Regions from separate parts of the Homo sapiens genome. Here region 2 is linked to region 1. Evidence: promoter capture Hi-C in human tissues and cell types (Jung and others, 2019). All regions are on one chromosome and are shown on one strand. Each heading gives the region's core, a stretch centred on a gene start or on the middle of the fragment in contact. The rest is flanking DNA. Distances are from core to core; before and after follow the strand shown.

Region 1 (4,364 bases), core at 1,529-4,028:
ATAATATATTATATTTTATATCATATATTTTATATATAATATGTTATATTTTATATCATATATTTTATATATTATATTTTATATCATATATTTTATATCATATATTTTATATATAATATATTATATTTTATATAAAATATATTATATTTCATATAAAATATATGATATTTTATATCATATATTTTATATATAATATATTATATTTTATATCATATATTATATATAAAATATATTATATTTTATATCATATATTTTATATATAATATATTATATTTTATATATAATATATTATATTTTATATCATATATTTTATATAATATATTATATTTTATATCATATATTTTATATAAAATATATGATATTTTATATCATATATTTTATATAAAATATATTATATTTTATATCATATATTTTATATATAATATATTTTATATCATATATTTTATATATAATATATTTTATATCATATATTTTATATATAATATATTTTATATCATATATTTTATATATAATATATTTTATATCATATATTTTATATATAATATATTATATATCATATATTTTATATATAATATATTATATTTTATATCATATATTTTATATATATTATATATTGAAATTTTATATATTTGATATCAAACACATCATTAAAAAGGTGAAAAAATAAGTGACAACTGGAAAAACATATTTGCCACTTATGTGCTGTCAGGTATATCAAGTATTCATAAGTACATATTACAAGTTATATATTATAGTATATAGTATATATAATTATATATACTATAATACATAATATATATTATATATGCTGTATTATATAATATATATTATTACATATTATATACTATACTATAGAATACATAATATATATACTATATTATACAATATATTATATATACTATATTACACAATATATTATATATACTATATTACATAATATATATCATACATTATATACTATATTATATAAGATATATGTTATATATGTTATATTGTATTATATATATTTTTTATATATATCTGAGTTGCAAGGGCAAACTTAGTCCACAGATCTCAGAGAATGGTCCACACTGTATCTCTCCTAAAAAACTACAAAAGCACAGGAAATCAGACATTGCAAATATATCAGCCCCATTTTGTTCATTCTGTGATAGTGCCAGTTTTTCATATTCAAATATCGAAACCAAGAAAACTCATGAGTACTTTCAAGAATCTCACTGATGATACAGCTTCAGTCATGCCATCTACCCAGTTGATGTCTTCACCTGTTAAAATGGAAACTAAATGTCTCATGAAGGATAAATAAGGGGACTCTTGAGATCTCCCGCTTGCATTTCCAGATGATATTTACTGCCTTCAAGCTTTTCATGCCTACTTCAAAAGAAAAGTTTCTTTTCCAATTCAGGTAAATGTCTCTAAATGTATACTTTTTCTTTTTTCTTTCTTTATTCCATTTTTTTTTCTTTGTTAGGCAGGGTCTCACTCTGTCACCCAGGCTGGAGTACAGTGGTGCAATCTCAGCTCACTGAAGCCTAAACCTCCTGGGCTCAAGCAATCCTCCCACCTCAACCTCCCACTTAGCCACAGGCATGTGCCACCACACCTGGCTAAATTTTGTATTTTTTGTAGAGATGAGTTTTTGCCATTTTGCCCAGGCTGGTCTCGAACTCCTGAGCTCAAGTGATCTGCCTGCCTTGGCCTTCCAAAGTGCTGCGATTACAGGGCATGCACCAGTGCATGCAGCCTAGTTTTTTCTTTTATGTATTAGTAATGCCAAACGTGTTCTCTATTTCTAACATGTACTATGGCTTTTTTGGCAACATAAGGTACAGAGCACAGGTTAGGTCATACACACACGCACACTCACACCATCATCACACACACACACACGCACACCATCATCATAATCACTTTCTGAACAACTTTTTAAACTTTCCAATGCTCAGTTTTCTCATTTGTAAAATGAGATTCTAAGAGGATCTACCTCAGAATTATTGTAAAATTGAAAGAGATAATGCAAGCAAAATGCTTTGTAACACATAATAGTCATTAGTATTAATGATAGTAGTTGGTACTTATAAGCTAAGTTTTTTTTCTCAACTTCTCTCCATTTATCAAACAGGATACAGCTCAAACCAACTTTTCTTTTTAATCTCAGCATCATCAGAAAATGTTTGAAGTTGGAGAAAAGTCAGCCTCTTCAACATATCTTTGTTATTTAATACAAAAAGAAGAAATACAAAGATAAACACCAATTCTATCTAAAATTGAATGAAAAATAAAGCAAGTTATAGACTGCTGTTCAAGAAGCAAATGAAATCAGCATAAGCAATGAATTCAAAATCCTGAGAAGGATTTCATACAGAAAGAAGAAATTCAAAGATAAACACCAACTTTATCTAAAATTGAAGGAAAAATAAAGCAAGTTATAGACTGCCGTTCAAGAAGCAAATGAAATCAGCATAAGCAATGAATTCAAAATCCTGGGCTATAAATGAAATTGAGGCCGATTTCTGCAAATATATCTCATACTTACTCTATACCTGTCTATAATGCTACAACTCCTGCTTTGCCATATATGTAAAAAACAAGCCTAAGACAGGAAAAAGGAACTTACCCACGAAATTCTCTTTATCTTGCTTCTCAGGTGAAGACACCCTAGAATCCATCTCATTCTTGAGAAGCTTTTATACTTGGCAATTTTTCATGGGTTTGGAGCTAAGTGTGAAGAACAGGCAGCAACTCAGATGTGCTTGGGAGAGGGGAGAGGAGAAAGTATGAGAGAGTGAAAGACATTCCTTCTCTTTAGTGAACTCCCTAAGGGGTAGTTACCCTGGTGAGGGAAGCCTGATAACATAAACAAAAAGATTTCTTTTATGAGTTCAGACTGCCTTTGTTCACAGAAAAAACTTGAAAGAATATGACCATCTGGTGGTATTGCTTCCTGTAAAATATTGCTGTGTAATTTTCTATAGCATTTATATTTCATAAAACACTTCTATGCACCTTGTATAAATCTTGTGTGATCACTGATTACACAATGACCTGTTCAATACACAGGGCAAGTGTATCCATCCTTATGTTTCAGATGAGAAAATTTAACCCAACTCATTCTAACACTGCAGTGAGTGAGCTTTTGAAACTCAAATCTGATCATGTCTTCATCCTGCTTAAAATAATCAAAAAATTGCCAACTGTCAATATTGTAAAGACCAAACTCCTAAGTGTCCTACAAGACCCTGCTGGCCTGCCCCTTCCTCCCTTTCCAGCCTCACTCATGTGTCTCTCCGTGAAGCAGCTCCATTGGTCTCCTATCAGTGCCTCCAAAGCTTGATATGTCTTCTCGCCACCGGATCTTTGCACGTGTTATCATATGCATAATTTTTTGGCTTGTGTCTGTTTCTTCTTCTAGACCAAGAATTGACAAACTTTAGCTTGCCAGCTAAATTTAATTTACCACTTGTTTTTAAAACATAAAGTGTTATTGGAACACAGTATGTCCTTTTGTTGCTTTCTTTTTTTTTTTTTTTTTTTTGAGATAGGATTTCACTCTGTTGCCCAGGCTGGAGTGCAGTGGCACAATCACAGCTCACTGCAATCTCGACCTGCCAGGCTCAAGCAATCTTCCTACCTCAGCCTCTTCAACAGCTGGGACTCCAGGTGCACACCACCATACCTGGCTAATTTTTAATTTTTTTTTTTTTTAGAGATGGGGCCTCACTATATTGCCCAGGCTGGTCTCAAACTCTGGGCTCAAATGATCCTTCAGCCTTGGTCTCCCAAACTGCTGGGATTGTAGATATGAGCCACCATGCCCAGCTCTTTCATTTTTGTATTGTCTGTGCTCACTTTTGCACTGCACCCGTGGATTTGAGTAGTTGTGACACAGACCATACAAGCTGTAAGGCCTAAAATATTTACTGTTTGTCCCTTCACAAAAAAAGTTTGCTGACCCCTGCCTTGCACTATACATTTCCATGAGGAGAGTGACTTGGTCTAACATTTCCATTGCATCTGCAACAATTAGAACAACGTGGGCACATGATTGATGTTCAACAATACTTGCTGAATGAATGAATATATAAATCACAAATGAAAACAGCTCTCAAATGGCAAAGCTCTTTCTCAAATCCAGATCCTTAGGATCCTGTACTAGGATTCCTTCTTTCATCAGACCACATAGAACCACAGACAATTTTGTGGTTATTCCAATACTAAGAACACCAATTTTCTAATTTTCTGATGTTCATTTCTCTCATATCAATATCCCAAATATATCTTGTTTTTCTTTTGTATACCATTATATTTATTGTATGGCATTTATTATATTATATTGTATTATTTTGTGAAAACAGTAGAAAAAA
Region 2 (4,451 bases), core at 1,078-3,577, 560 kb after region 1:
CAAAGGCTCTGCATGGGACTAGCAAAACATCATTAATAAGAATGATAGAGAAGAACTGTAGGGACCAAGCACACCTTGCCAAGGGCAACATCTTGCAATGCACCAGCAACAGTGAAAAAACAGCCCATGAAGCTTCTGAAGTGAAGGTCTCCACCCAAAGACAATGAAGGCACAGTTACATATTTAGCCAGTTTTTTTAATTTAATGGGTGCCTTTTTGGAGGTGGTGACCAAGAATGAGGATGATGCTTTGGGATACCTTACTTGCAGGATTTGTTGTATACTTATTCTGGAGGTGGTGACCAAGAATGAGGATGATGCTTTGGGATACCTTACTTGCAGGATTTGTTGTACACTTATTCTGGAGGTAATTCTGAATAAAAGAGAAAAAAACTTTATTAATGCTTTTAAATGAAGTTAAACTTAAAAATGTAAAGCATCAGGAACCCTGCAAAGAGCAACCAGAATAATATCCCACAAAATGAGAAAATTGAAATATGTCAATACATTTAAGCTAATATTAGAAAATCATTCATTTTAGTCTTCATGGGAAAGCACAGAAATACAATTAATGGAATACAATTTAGAAATTATTTTGATAATCATCTAATAATTATGAATCACTGTGGTAGACTAATTACAGCAAAAACCCCATTCTTCAACCTTTCCTATACCCAACTCCCTGGAATGTAAATTTGCAGCTTCACCCCATGAATTTGGACAGGCTTTGAAACTTCCTTTGGCCAGAGAAAATGCAGTGGAAGTGACACTATGTCAGTCTTGAGACTGGATTTCAAAACTTCAGGCACGGCCAGGCATGCAGGCTCACACCTCTTATCACAATACTTGGGGAGGCGAAGATATGAGGATCCCTTGAGCTCAGGAGTTCAAGACCAGCCTGAGCAACATAGTGAGACTTCATCTCTACAAAAAAAAATATTTTTTTTAATTAGCCAGCATGGTGGTCTGTGCCTGTAGTCCCAGCTACTCAGGAAGCTGAGGTGGCACTTGAGCCCAGCAGTGTGAGGCTGCAGTGAACTATGATTGCGCCACTGCGCTACAGCCTGGGTGACAGAGCAAGACCTTGTCTCAAAAAATAATAAAATAAATAAAAAAGGCCAGGTGCACGTTGGAATCCTGACCCACTGTCATGAAAACAAACTTTACCTAGCCTGCTGGATGAACAGAAACAGATAGTGGAACATCATTCCAGCTGAGGCCATCCTAAACCAGCCAGCCACCTGCCAATTTCCCTGCCGATGGCAGACAATCAGTGAAAAAAAGGTCAGACTAACCTAAGCCAGCCCAGACCTGATGAACCACCCCACCAACCCATCAGCTCACAAGCTTAATTAATATATGGTTGTCGTTTTAAGCTATGAAATTTTGAGGTGGCTTGTTATACCTTATGAAAGGCTCATCTACCTTTCAAAGTTGCTCCTTGGATTTCATTCTATAACTTTCTTTTTAACTCTCCTTGTGTTTTCTCAGCTACCAATAACACCATTACTTGTCCTATGACTCTGGATTAAGCAATCTACTTTGACTTCTCCCTCTCCTGTACTTCCTATAATCAATCACTTAATCTGGCAGCTTCTATACAGATGTAGATCTCAAAGTTATCTACCAGTCTCCATTTTTTCTGCCATACCACAAGTAAAAGTCTTCATCATTTGTCTTCTAAAAGGTCTCCTTTCCTCATTCTTTTGCCTCTTTAATATACTCTTTAATCGCTAAAGAGGAATAATTTTCTTACTAAATCAAAATCATTGTTTTATTAAAATGCATGTCAGGACATATCATCCCATAAATGCAAGTCAGACACTTTAACAACCCCCAGTTTCCTACAGAATGTTCTGAACAGTTGAGCATGGAATTCAAGATGTTTCATTATCTGATCCCAATTTTTCCTTCTAGTTGTTTCGCCTGCATCCCTGCATACTTCTACAGTCACATCACACCAGAATCAATGCCCAAACAGACCAGACTTTTTCACATCTCCGTGTTTTCAAATGTTGTTGTCTTCCCCCTCCTCCCCACCCACTGAACTTTCAACAAGCTGATTCAACTACTGACAACTTTCTGACTGTCTTCTCCAATAGGCGTGTGTCCCCCCAGCCATTCACATCCCCATCTACTGCCCTTGGGTAGATCTGTCCTTTTCCCTGAACACCTTGAATATGCCTCCATTGTTATAGTAAAGTTTTCATTAAAGTTTAACCTCTACTTAGTCAAGTACTAAAGGTTGTAAATTTTTGACAGCATGGCATATGAACCTTTGCATCCCTCATACAACAGTACAATGCTTGATAGGCTAAATGCAATGTGTTGTGGATCTGGGGTCTTAGAAGTGGGAGGAACTCTTCAGAAAAAATTTTCTTTTCTAGCCAGAAGTCAAGTCCAGATGTGGTGCAAATAAATACTCTTGCTCCATTATCAAAAATAAAAGATTACGAACAAGGCCAAGTAAGCTTTTGGCTCCTTCAAAATTCTAACAATATTACAATACAGCATCAGCTACTTCACTCCTACTCGGAAACTGACAAATATGACTATGTTAAATTCAATTAGAATCAGGACCCAGAGGTGCTCCAATCCCTTTGTATTCTCATCCTTGTCTGTCTGACATATTGGGCAGAATCAAATAAGTGAAAGGTGGCTTCTGAATACAGTAAAACTTTGAAAAACAGAGCTCTCCCCGCCCTTTTTTTTTTTTTTTTGCATTCTGCTGTGAAATTAAGAAAGAAAATAAGGTGCTACCAGAACTCATGCGATAGCGCTTTCTTTTAGGCACATATTATAGCATTCAGATGAAAGTTCTGTAATCACACACACACTGTGCCTCTAACAACAAACACGGTGACTCTGAGCAAAGTCTCTCAATTTCTCTGGGTCACTATTTCCTCATCTGTAAAATGAATGGCTGAGGCTAACTTAGCACTAAACTTTAGTGAGCTTATTAAGCATCAGTTTATTGAAACTGGTGTTCACAATAATAAACATAAGTGAAGGCAAGATATTTAGTAACAAAAATTTAAGTATTAAATTATACATAGCATATAACACGTTTATAAAGATAGCAAAAGAAGCCAACATAATTTTGAAAGATTTTTAACAAAACTGATAAATATTTTCATGGCCTTCAACAAGAAATTTCAATTAATAAGGACATTCCATCCATACATGATATGGTTTGGATATCTGTCCCCTCCAAATCTCATGTTGAAGATGTTGCAGGTGGGACCTAGTGGGAAGTACTGGATCATGGGGGCAGGTCTCTCATGAATGGCTTAGTACCATCCCCTTGGTGGTAAGTGAGTTCTCACTCAATTAGTTCACATGAGATCTGGTTGTTTAAAAGAGTCTGGGACCTCCCCCTTCACTCTCTCACTCCCACTCTTGCCATGTGACACACCTGCTCCCCCTTTGCCTTCCACCAAGATTAGGAGCTTCCTGAAGCCCACACCAGAAGCTGAGCAGATGTCAGCGCCATGTTTCCTGTACAGCCAGCAGAACCGTGAGTCAATAAAACGTCTTTATTAATGATCCAGCTGCAGGTATTTCTTTATAGCCATACAAGAACAGACTAACACAGAAAATTGGCACTAAGGAGTGGGGTGCTGAAAATGTGAAAGCAGCTTTGGAACTTGGTAATGGCCAGAGGTTGGAGGAGTTTGGAGGTCAAAGAAGAAGACAGGAAGATGAGGGAAAGTTTGGAACTTCTTAGAGACTGGTTAAATGGTTGTGACCAAAACGCTGATAGAAATATGGAAAGTGAAGTCCAGACTGAGATCTCAGATGGAAATAAGGAAGTTATTGGGAACTAGAGTAATGGTCACCCCTGTTACACCCTGGCGAAGAACTTGGCTGTACTGTGTTTATGCCCTAGGGATGTGTGGAAGTTTGCACTTCAGAGTGATGACCTAGGGTATCTGGCAGAAGAAATTTCTAAGCAGTAAGACATTCAAGAAGTGGCCTAGTGGCTTCTAACAGCTTATAATCAGATAACGGGACCAAAGAAATGACTTCAAATTGGAATTTATATTTAAAGAGAAAGCAGTGACTGGACATGGTGGCTCATGCTATAAACCCAGCAATTTGGGAAGCTGAGGTGGGAAGATTGTTTGAACCCAGGAGTTTGGGACTAGACCTGGCAACATAGTGACACTCCATCTCTACAAAAAAATAAAAATCAGCCAGCCATGATGGCACATCCCTGTAGTCCCAGCTACTCAAGAGGCTGAGGCTGGAGGATCTCTTGAGCCCAGAAGATTGAAGCTGCAGTGAGCCATGATCACACCACTGCAGTCCAGCCTGAGTGACAGGGCAAGATCCTGTCCCTAAATAAATAATAAATAAATAATAGGAGCAGAGCATAAAAGTCTGGAAAACTTGCAGCCTGGCCCTGTGGTCGAGAAGGATTCCAAGCACACTAAGGAGCAACCACCTGCT

What was found. Contacts are between HindIII fragments. The study calls those that stand out against the background at their distance.
Region 2: a contact is called between a fragment that was not itself captured here and the fragment with the promoter of STOML3 in region 1, in 1 of the 25 tissues and cell types used here (dorsolateral prefrontal cortex).

The regions. Positions count from the first base shown.
Region 1 is chr13:38,988,053-38,992,416 of GRCh38, forward strand. It overlaps STOML3 (stomatin like 3), which reads right to left and starts at 2,779. Exons shown (of 7, transcript NM_145286.3): 1 at 2,618-2,779. The coding sequence starts at 2,669. The HindIII fragment of the contact is 2,975 bases long and covers 2,023-4,364 here.
Region 2 is chr13:39,552,622-39,557,072 of GRCh38, forward strand. All of the region lies in intron 2 of LHFPL6 (LHFPL tetraspan subfamily member 6), which reads right to left. Among named protein-coding and RNA genes, the nearest start is that of LHFPL6, 48 kb to the right of the region's middle. The HindIII fragment of the contact is 3,177 bases long and covers 740-3,916 here.